Linked DNA regions of Homo sapiens: region 1 is linked to region 2. The links are contacts of gene promoters, found by promoter capture Hi-C in blood cells and fetal thymus (Javierre and others, 2016). All regions are on one chromosome and are shown on one strand. Each heading gives the region's core, a stretch centred on a gene start or on the middle of the fragment in contact. The rest is flanking DNA. Distances are from core to core; before and after follow the strand shown.

Region 1 (4,452 bases), core at 977-3,476, 200 kb after region 2:
GTAACCTCTGTAAGGGTTACATGTAAAACATAAGGCACAATGAAGCCACTTGAAATTTTGAGGGGAACAAGATTTCAGTTAGGTTTTTCATCTTTGTGTTTGTGTGTGTGTGTGTGTGTGCGCGCGCGCGTGTGCGTGTTTGAGACAGAGGCTCGCTGGGTCACCTAGGCTGGAGTGCAGTGGTGTGATTTCAGCTTACTGCAACTTCCCAGGTTCAAGAGAGACAAAGGCAAACATTGTCTTATTATTTTGAAAAGATTTGGCTGGGCGCGGTGGCTCACACCTGTAATCTCAGCACTTTGGGCGGCGGAGGCGGGCGGATCACCTGAGCTCAGGAGTTGGAAACCAGCCTGGCCAACACGGTGAAACCTTGTCTCTACTAAAAATACAAAAAAAATTAGCCAGGCCTGGTGGCATGTGCCTGTAGTCCCAGCTACTTGCAGGCTGAGGCAGGAGAATCGCTTGAACCCGGGAAGCGGAGGTTGCAATGAGCCGAGATTGTGCCGCTGCACTCCAACCTGAGCGACAGAGTGAGAGACTTCATCTGGGAAAAAAAAAAAAAAAGAGTTTTGACCCTGTGGGCCCCCTGTGAAGGTCTTAGTGTTCCCTAAAGATCCCCATGCCTCATTTTAAGAACCACTGGACTGGTGAGACGGGCATAAGCTGTCTTGGGATCCTGGTATGTGCTACATGAGGTATGCTTCCACCCTTAGCCTGTAGCTTCTCAAGTTTCATTTGAAACAATTTCTACTTTCTTCAGATAGAGGGAGAAGCTGGGAGGCCTGACACCTACCTTTTTGCTTTCCATCGAGGTCAAGGGGGCAGGAGGAAAGAGTACAATGTATTCATTCTGGTTTCTCCCAATTTTCTCAGTCCCACAGACGGCAACACAACAAAGATAAACCCTTCAAGTGCCACAACTGTCATCGGGCGTACACGGATGCAGCCTCACTAGAGGTGCACCTGTCTACGCACACAGTGAAGCATGCCAAGGTGTACACCTGCACTATCTGCAGTCGGGCATACACATCAGTGAGTGCTCCGTTTCTTCTCTCCTTCCTCATAGTCCTCTAAGAGTACAGTCCACTTCACCCCATTTTCTGGGTAGAGATCTGTTGCAGTGAATACCCTGCCTCCCTAGCTCCAACTTAGCAGAACAGGTAAATATTCAGAAATTAATTAGACCCATTCTGAGGAATTTAGGGGATGCCTGATCTCCTAATCCTATAGAGACGCATAAGCTGTAATTCTTCATTTTACTTAAACATAAGGCAAAATAAAGCCACTTGAAATTTTGAGGGGAGCTGGATTTCAGTTAGGCATTTTCTTCTTCTTTTTTTTTTTTTTTTCTTTTTGAGACACAGTCTCGCCCTGTCACCCAGGCTGGAGTGCAGTGGTGTGATCTCGGCTCGGCTCACTGTAACCTCCACCTCCTGGGTTCAAGCGATTCTCCTGCCTCAGCCTCCCAAGTAGGTGGGATTACAGGTGCATGTTGCCATGCCCAGCAACTTTTTGTATTTTTAGTAGACATGGGGTTTCACCATGTTGCCCAGGCTGGTCTCAAACTCCTGACCTCAAGTGATCCACCTACCTCAGCCTCCCAAAGTACTGGGATTACAGGTGTGAGCCACCGCACCTGGCCCAGTTAGATATTTTCCATGAGACTCCAGAAAAGGTTGTAAAGTTGTTTCATTCAGGGGTCTTTGAAAAAAATAGCAGCTCATTCCTTTGCCAGTTGAATGTTGAGTGACTTCTAAAGGTTCCTCTCTTTTTTTTCTCAGTAGTGAGCCACTGAAAGTGCTACTTGAGTTTTGCTCAGTCTTGGCTCCAGAAAACCAGTATAAAGCTTACTCTGCTTACAGCAGAATCAGAGCCTGGGGTGCTAGTTACAAGTAATCTCTTTTCCTTCCTCTTTATCCCTCAACTTCTTTTTACCATCTCCCTCAGGAAACATACCTTATGAAACATATGCGCAAACACAACCCGCCTGATCTTCAGCAACAGGTGCAGGCAGCAGCAGCAGCGGCAGCAGTGGCCCAGGCCCAGGCTCAAGCTCAAGCCCAGGCTCAGGCTCAGGCTCAAGCCCAGGCCCAGGCCCAGGCCTCCCAGGCATCACAGCAGCAGCAGCAGCAGCAGCAGCAGCAGCAGCAGCAGCAGCAACAGCCACCACCACACTTCCAGTCTCCTGGGGCAGCCCCCCAGGGTGGGGGTGGTGGGGACAGCAATCCCAACCCTCCACCCCAGTGTTCCTTTGACCTGACCCCGTATAAGACGGCGGAGCATCATAAGGACATCTGCCTCACTGTCACCACCAGCACCATCCAGGTGGAGCACCTGGCCAGCTCTTAGAGATCCGTGCTGCCACCCACTGGGAAGAGGAAGAAGTAGTCCTGGTGTCTTCTTTCTCCAACTCTTGGTGGGAAAAGTCCTTTTCTTCCTTGACAGGCCTTGGCTCCATCTCCTTGGGCCTCTGTCACGGCTTTCCTTCACAGGATACCATCCTTTTTCTGAACTCTTCTTCAAAAGGAACATCAGCCCTCCTGATTGCAAAGGAATACTGAGCTGATGGTGTCATCCAGCAGCCTCCCCTCCCAAGCAAAGCTTCTAAAACTGGGGGTCGGTGCTCAAGGGAAGGATTTGCTATGACCTCATAGAACCTTGTCCAGTGTGGCCACTTACCCTATCCTTACCCTCCTTATCCTCAAAGTTTGGGCTGATGTAAGACTAGAGGCTGGCCCTCCCAGATAACAGAGAAAAGGGAGCCCCAAATGCAACCAGCCTCTTGTTCTATTCTTGCCTGCAAAAGAACAGAGGTTTCTCAAATGCCTCAGTCCCTGAGAGCCATTTCTTCCCCTACATCGTCTCACTTTGCTTCCTATTGACTGCTGGTAGAAGGAGATTTGGGGTAGGGGCTAGACCTCCTTTTATTTGAAGGGGGCAAGGGCTGAGATGTGGTCCCCAAGGGGCCAGAAATTCCCAAGTTGGTCACAGGTGGCTTAGAAGTGTGTGTTATGGTTTTACGGATTTCCTTGAAGCCTCTCTCCTTCTCTGCCTACAAAGACCCTATACTCTCAGTCTCCCCAACCCACCCCCAAGGAGCTGTGGGAGGCTTTGTGTTATCTGTGAAACTCCAAAACAGGGGTGTTGCGGAGAAGGGAGAGTTCAAGGCAAACGCAAGGACTGGACTTAGCTCCCTAGGTGCCACAGTCAGATGCCGGACACGGATTTATATATAAATATATATATATAAATATATTATACTCACTCATCACGGCCATCTTTGTTGTAACCATTTCTGTGTTTATAAATGCATTATCTCTGAGAATTTTCATATTTGATGTTTTGTTTATTTTTGTCCTTTTTTTCCCTCTCTCCACCCCTGTCCTCTAGCCACAGCATTTTTCTTTTTGTCTTTTTTTTTTTTTTTTAAATCATGGCAGATTTCAGAGGAAAGGAAATTAAAAAAAAAATCAGGAAACCAGTTGTTATAAAGTAATTTAAAAATGAAGAAAAAAAGAAAAAAACTTATGTACAAACCAAGGGGTGTTTTTAGAACATTGTATAGAAATAAATTCATGTAAAAGGATCAGAGGCAGTGGAGCTACTGATGTGAGCGAGCATGCGGAAAAGGTATTTGGGGAGATGTCCAAGAACAGTACTGAGGATTTATACCAGAGTGTGTGTGTGATGAACAAGTGCTTGTGTGATGATGCCCCATTTGTGCAATTCTCCAGTCATGGAAGGGTACAGTTTCATGATGTCTCCAGTGAAATCCTGGTTTATGAGGACTTCTACATACACATTCTGTCATGGGGATTGCATTGCCTAAATATGTGAGAGCAAGGCTTTGGTTATGTGTTAACAAAACAGCTAAGCTCCCTATGGAAGAAAAATGGAAGCCTCTTGAAAGGACCTACACTCCTGCCTGAGTCTGTGGAAGAGGGGCTTGCAGTTGGCAATGTGTATACATATGTGTATTTGTTACCTTGTGGAAATCATAACCGGTTAAGGGGTGCAAGATTGATTTATGCAGGAGAGCTGTAGTACTATGGAGTAGAATGTGGTCATGAAACCTGGACTTCAGCCCTTTGCCTACCATCAACCAGTGTTGGCCAGGGTGCTTCTTCAACTGTTAGTGAAGGGATTGGACTAGATAACTCTGAAGATACCTTTTTTGAGAATTAAGTAACTTGCTTTAAGGCTGGGTGCGGTGGCTCACGCCTGTAATCCCAGCATTTTGGGAGGGCGAGGCAGGCAGACTACTTGACGTCAGGAGTTCAAGACCAGCCTGGCCAACATGGTGAAACCCCATCTCTACTAAAAATACAAAAATTGATGGCCGTGCACGGTGGCTCACGCCTGTAATCCCAGCACTTTGGGAGGCCGAGACAGGTGAATCATGAGGTTAGGAGCTCGAGACCAGCCTGGCCAGTATGGTGAAACCCCGTCTCT
Region 2 (4,828 bases), core at 1,311-3,810:
GGACTTCAGCCATCCTCGGAGCTTCTCGTGTACTTCCTGGGCCTAGAACAAGAAGCTGGCCTAAGTAAGACCTTTTCTGCCTCTCTAAGAGGAAAAATCACTGGCACCAGTGGACACTTAGTGTGGTTTCTGACTGAGTCAGAGTACCAGGGCTCTGATCCAAGCCAGGCCCTGGACTGGATGCCCTTGGACAAGTCACTGTCTCTGGGTTCAAGGTCTCTGTGTCTTTGAAATAAGGGGTTGCCCCATGTGGGCTGTGTCTGTCCAAACCTATTGAGGCAGGCTGGGATGAGGGCAGGGCTCCTGGGCCCGGTTACCTGTTGGGGTGTTGCAGTCTTGCCAGTACCAATGGCCCACACAGGCTCATAGGCCAGGACGACCTTGCTCCAGTCCTTCACGTTATCTGCAGGGCAGAGATACAGATGGAGGGAAGGGTGAACAAGAAAGAGCTCTCCAGCCAGGTTCTCCGGAGTACGAAGAACGGTGGCCTACTGCCCCCTAGTGGACATTGGGGGATTTCCAGGTGGCATCTACCTTGGGGCTGGAGAAGTCATAGGCCCCAAGCAAAGATTGTCACTCCCCCTCCCCTTTTTCCTTTTCTGGATCAGCATGGGGACCAAGACAGGCTCCAGGGCCTGACCCTACCCTCTGAGTCTCTGTGGCCCTGGATAGGCTCAAAGGTCCCTTTCTCCAGAGATACCTGCGATGACCTTTGTCTGCTCGAAAACAACCTTCTCAGTGATGCCAGCTTCCCTTTCATCTAGCTTCTCCCCAATGCAGGCGATTACTCCGAGTCCCTCTGCCAGAGCATGGGCCACTTTCTGCCCAATCAGCTGTTGAGAAACAGACTTGGTGAGACATCCTTCTTGGAAAAAGACATCCCTTATCTTCTCTCTTGGCTACTAACCTCATCTGACTCCCCAAAGACATGCCTTCTCTCTGAGTGCCCCAGGACCACCCACGTGGCTCCGCAGTCTTTGATCATGCCAGGGCTAAAGGAAGAGATGAAGCCAAGGTTCAGCAGGGAGCCCACCCTGTGGCTTTCCCCTCAACGAGGAAAGTGAGGGAAGGGTCCCACACACCCCTCTCCACCTCGATCTCACCTGATCTCCCCAGTAAAAGCCCCATTAGTCACTTTGTAGCAGTTCTGCGCAGCCACAGCAATCTTGGGATCTAGCTTCTGCCGGGCGAAGTCGATATAGGCAGTAGGGGGAGCACAAACCACCTCTGAGGACAAGATGGTACCACAGGGGGATGAGACTAAAGAAAGCCTTCATTCCCCACAATTCCTAACCAGTGCCCTGGAGCCCCCCAGCCCTCACCCTCTTCTTCTTGGTTCTGCTCTCCCCCTTTTCACCCCAGCAAGATGACCTTTGTCCATTTTCCAGCCCAGGCTGGGTCTGCACTCAACTCGAAGAGCCTTCCAGATACCCCTGAGAGGCCACGGCCCTCACCCTGCCCTCTGCTCTTTTAACAGCTGGGGCTCCAATTTCCTCGAGCTATTCTCGGCATAGGCACCTCACAGACTCAGCATTCTCCAGGGAGCAACCCTGCTTCCCTTCTAAAATAGCCCATCCTCACCTCCCCTTTGCAAGGCAAGGATTTGTAGCAAAAGGAGAGGGGCCAACTCCTGGGGTTTGTATTGAGGCCTCTGGGGAATGAACGAGAAGGGGATGCCTCTTTGGATCAGGCCCGCGGCTCTCCGATTTCGGTGGAGGGAGGAAGGAGGATGGAGGAGAGCATCCTTTGCCCGTGGGTGGCAGAGACCTAACTGACTCAGAGGCCTTGCGCTTTGCTGTTTCCAGGTTGGGGAAAGCGGTAGGATGGCTCCTCACTCCCAAATCGCTCAGCCTGTTTGGCACGGGCTCGGTCCCTTCCGTGGAAGGCGGGAGTCGTTCAGGTTGCCGAAGGGAAGGGGTCAGATCTGGGGCTCAGGGAGCCCGAGCAGCTCGGCGCGGGGACGCGGACGCCGGCGAGGAAGGGGAGGAGTCTGGGGCTACGTGCGGCGGCGCACGGCGCGGGAGGCCAGGGCGCAGGGAGCGGGAAGCCCACGCGGCCCAGCCTCCCCCGGTCTCCCGCAGAGCCTCGGGCTCCGCTCCTAACCCCGTCGCCTGGCGGGCACAGCCCCAGTGCGCGCCCCGGGGCCACCTTCCTCCAGGAGACCCAAAACGTCCTTACCTGCCCCATAGTCCAAGGGGCATCATGTGCTCCGCCCTGCCCCCTCGACGCACCGACGGGGCTGCGGCTGCGAGGCCCCTGCCCGGACCCCAGCGGCCCTCGTCCCACAGCCCTGCATCAGGTCCGCGCGGATACCGGCCTCGGGGCCTCGGGGCCTCGGGAGAGGGCGCTGCCACTCCTGCCCCGGCCCCGGCCCCGGCCCGGCCAGACCCCTCCTCGGCGAGGGCTTACCGGTGTCGGCCGGCACCTTGGCCGCGTTCAGAGTGCCGATGAGCTCCCCCAGACTCTGCTTCCGCCCGTTCATCTTCCAGTTTCCCCCAACGAAGAACTTCCTGGAGGGCGCCATGGCGCTGGAGCCGAGGCGCTGAAGGTCAGTGTCTGCGCGCAGTCGCGGCCACTGCCCACTTATATAGAGCGCCGCGAAGTGGAACTCCGCCTCCTCGCCGTCCTCCGCCATGGCCCGCCCAGTCCCCCGGAGCCCTGCCCCCCGCCCGCCCTCCTGCCGCCGCCCCGGCCGCCGCCCGATGATGCACTGTTCCGACGTTCCCCCTTCTTGTGGCAACGTTCTAGGAGAGTCGGGGGCTCGGTCGCCTCCGCCTCGATTGCGGGGCTTTCGGGACAAGGCGAGACCTGTGAGCTCCGGCGCTCAGGGGAACCCTCGCTTGGCGACTTGAGTCCCCCACGGGGCCAGAAGTGGTTTTCAAGCGGAACTAGCTGGTGGCAACTTGGCCGTAGCCCAGATCGCCCACTGGGGCAGAGAGGGCCCCTCTCCAACTGTGGGATAGACAACCTCCTTCGCCCATCGGAGCAGCTCATGCCCGACTGCTGAGCAGGCACCCTTGTACCCAGGGAGTCTACCTGAGTGAAAACTTGCGGGACAAATGCAGGGTTCACAGCGGGAGGGGCAGCCCACACAGGCATAGGCCGCCAGGATCATCCCAACCCTCGCCCCGGCTGGCAAGGCCTGGCAGGAACTGCAGGGACTGAGTCCCAGCCTGAAGCCAGCTAGCCAGTTAGGGACATTTGGGAAATCCTCCACTCCTGTGTGAATAAAGAGAGGGAAGGGTTCTTCACTCCATCTTTCCTTGGCTTTGTGTCGGCATTTAGTCACTCTACTCCACCTCCCCACCCAACCCCAATTTTCCTAGAGCTCTAGAACCAGTGAAAAGTGGAGACTTGACTTTGGCAGGGAGGCGGCCAGAGTTAGGAGTTTTCTTAAGCGCCCTCCTGCTAACCCCAGGAAGGTAAGCCTCTCCCCCAAGGTATCAAACAGGACACAATTTAGCCGTTGTACTTTTATTCACATCGTGTATTTTGGCATTTTCCAGAGAAGGACAAGGAAGAGACAGGGTGGGGGAAAGACTGAGGCAGGAGGGCAAGTCGGGGGGTCCCTATTTCCCTCACATCCCTCCTTGACCAACCACACAGGGGCAAACAAAGGGGGAGGGGAGGCACAGGTGATCGCTCCACTGGGAGAGGATGCACAAAGCTACACCCACGCGCACAAACGAGACCCCTCCCTCCACACCAGGGGGCTGGGCGGGGCGACACAGAGAAGCAGAGCACTGTGGATTCCGGGGGCAGGGGAAGCAACAAAGTCTCCTTACAGACAGGTGGCCGGCCCCTCCCGTCCCCGTCCTGCTCCATCCCCAGAGTCTATCGCTGCCCCTCTGCTCTGCCCAGCCATTCTCCCACGGCCTCCAGCTTCTTCCCTGCTGCCGGGGACAAAAGGAAAAAGGGTACAGAGCAGAGGGGCTGAAGTCCATCCCTCAGCCCCTCTCCCTCATGCCAGGTGGTCTTCCCCTGCCCTCATTGGTAAGGGGTGAGGCAGGCTCTTAGCTGGCCACTCTCTGGTAGAAGTAGATGTAGCCCAGGTCCTTGGGCGGCTTCTCGGAGGCACACACTTTCTGGTCATTGTAGATCACCCATCTGGGGAAGTGGGGAAAACAGAAAAGGATGAACAAACTGGGCATTCAAAGTGGCATCATGTAGTCTCTCAGACATGGCCCCTGGAAGTGCTCTCCACACTCTCTGCCCATACCCCAAATCCACAGCCCAGCCACCATGTGCCTTAAGGGAGCTTCACAACCTCACAAGGGTCACGGACCCTATTATGTCTTCAGATCCTCCAGTACCTTTACAACCACCCTCCACCCATTCCAGGGAGGCAGGGGGTTGGTAAACTTTTTCTGGCAAGGGCCAGATAGTATTTGAGGTTCTGCAGGCTCTCTCTCTGGTCTCTGACACAACGACTCAACTTTCCTGCCGCAGCGTGAAAACAGGCACAAACAACACATAAACAAGTGTGTCCAGGTTCCAGTGAAAATTTATTTACAAAGGCAGGGGGCCTGGCCAGGCACGGTAGCTCATGCCTGTAATCCTAGCACTTTGGGAGGCCGAGGCAGAAGGATCACTTGAGCTCAGGAGTTCAAGACCAGCCTGGGCAACATAGTGAGATCCCATCTCTATTTAAAAAAAAAGCTGGTGGCCAGATCCAACCCTTGGGCCAATCACTGCTGCAAGACCTTCTGTCACTCTCTGGCACTTTATGTCCCCATCAGGCAGTCCCTTCACCTTCTCCCATAGCTATCCCAAGGACTTCCAAATGGCCCTCCTCATTCCCACCACCATTCTCCATTCAAAACGCATG

What was found. The method cuts DNA at HindIII sites, captures the fragments that hold promoters and counts their contacts. A CHiCAGO score of 5 or more calls a contact.
Region 1: a contact is called between a fragment that was not itself captured here and the fragment with the promoter of TPI1 in region 2, in 4 of 17 cell types (non-activated CD4 T cells, naive CD4 T cells, total CD4 T cells and 1 more). The highest score is 11.0, in non-activated CD4 T cells.

Annotation. Positions count from the first base shown.
Region 1 is chr12:6,665,611-6,670,062 of GRCh38, reverse strand. ZNF384 (zinc finger protein 384) reads left to right here. Exons shown (of 12, transcript NM_001385745.1): 11 at 874-1,032; 12 at 1,948-3,586. The coding sequence ends at 2,349. Among named protein-coding and RNA genes, the nearest start is that of ING4, 4.7 kb to the right of the region's middle. The HindIII fragment of the contact is 755 bases long and covers 1,849-2,603 here.
Region 2 is chr12:6,865,263-6,870,090 of GRCh38, reverse strand. It overlaps TPI1 (triosephosphate isomerase 1), which reads right to left and starts at 2,560. Exons shown (of 7, transcript NM_000365.6): 1 at 2,410-2,560; 2 at 1,104-1,227; 3 at 908-992; 4 at 701-833; 5 at 318-403; 6 at 1-42. The coding sequence starts at 2,524. USP5 (ubiquitin specific peptidase 5) reads right to left here. Exons shown (of 20, transcript NM_001098536.2): 20 at 3,459-4,107. The coding sequence ends at 4,014. RefSeq lists silencers at 1,954-2,393, 2,664-2,713 and enhancers at 2,983-3,644, 3,645-4,307. The HindIII fragment of the contact is 21,039 bases long and covers 1-4,828 here.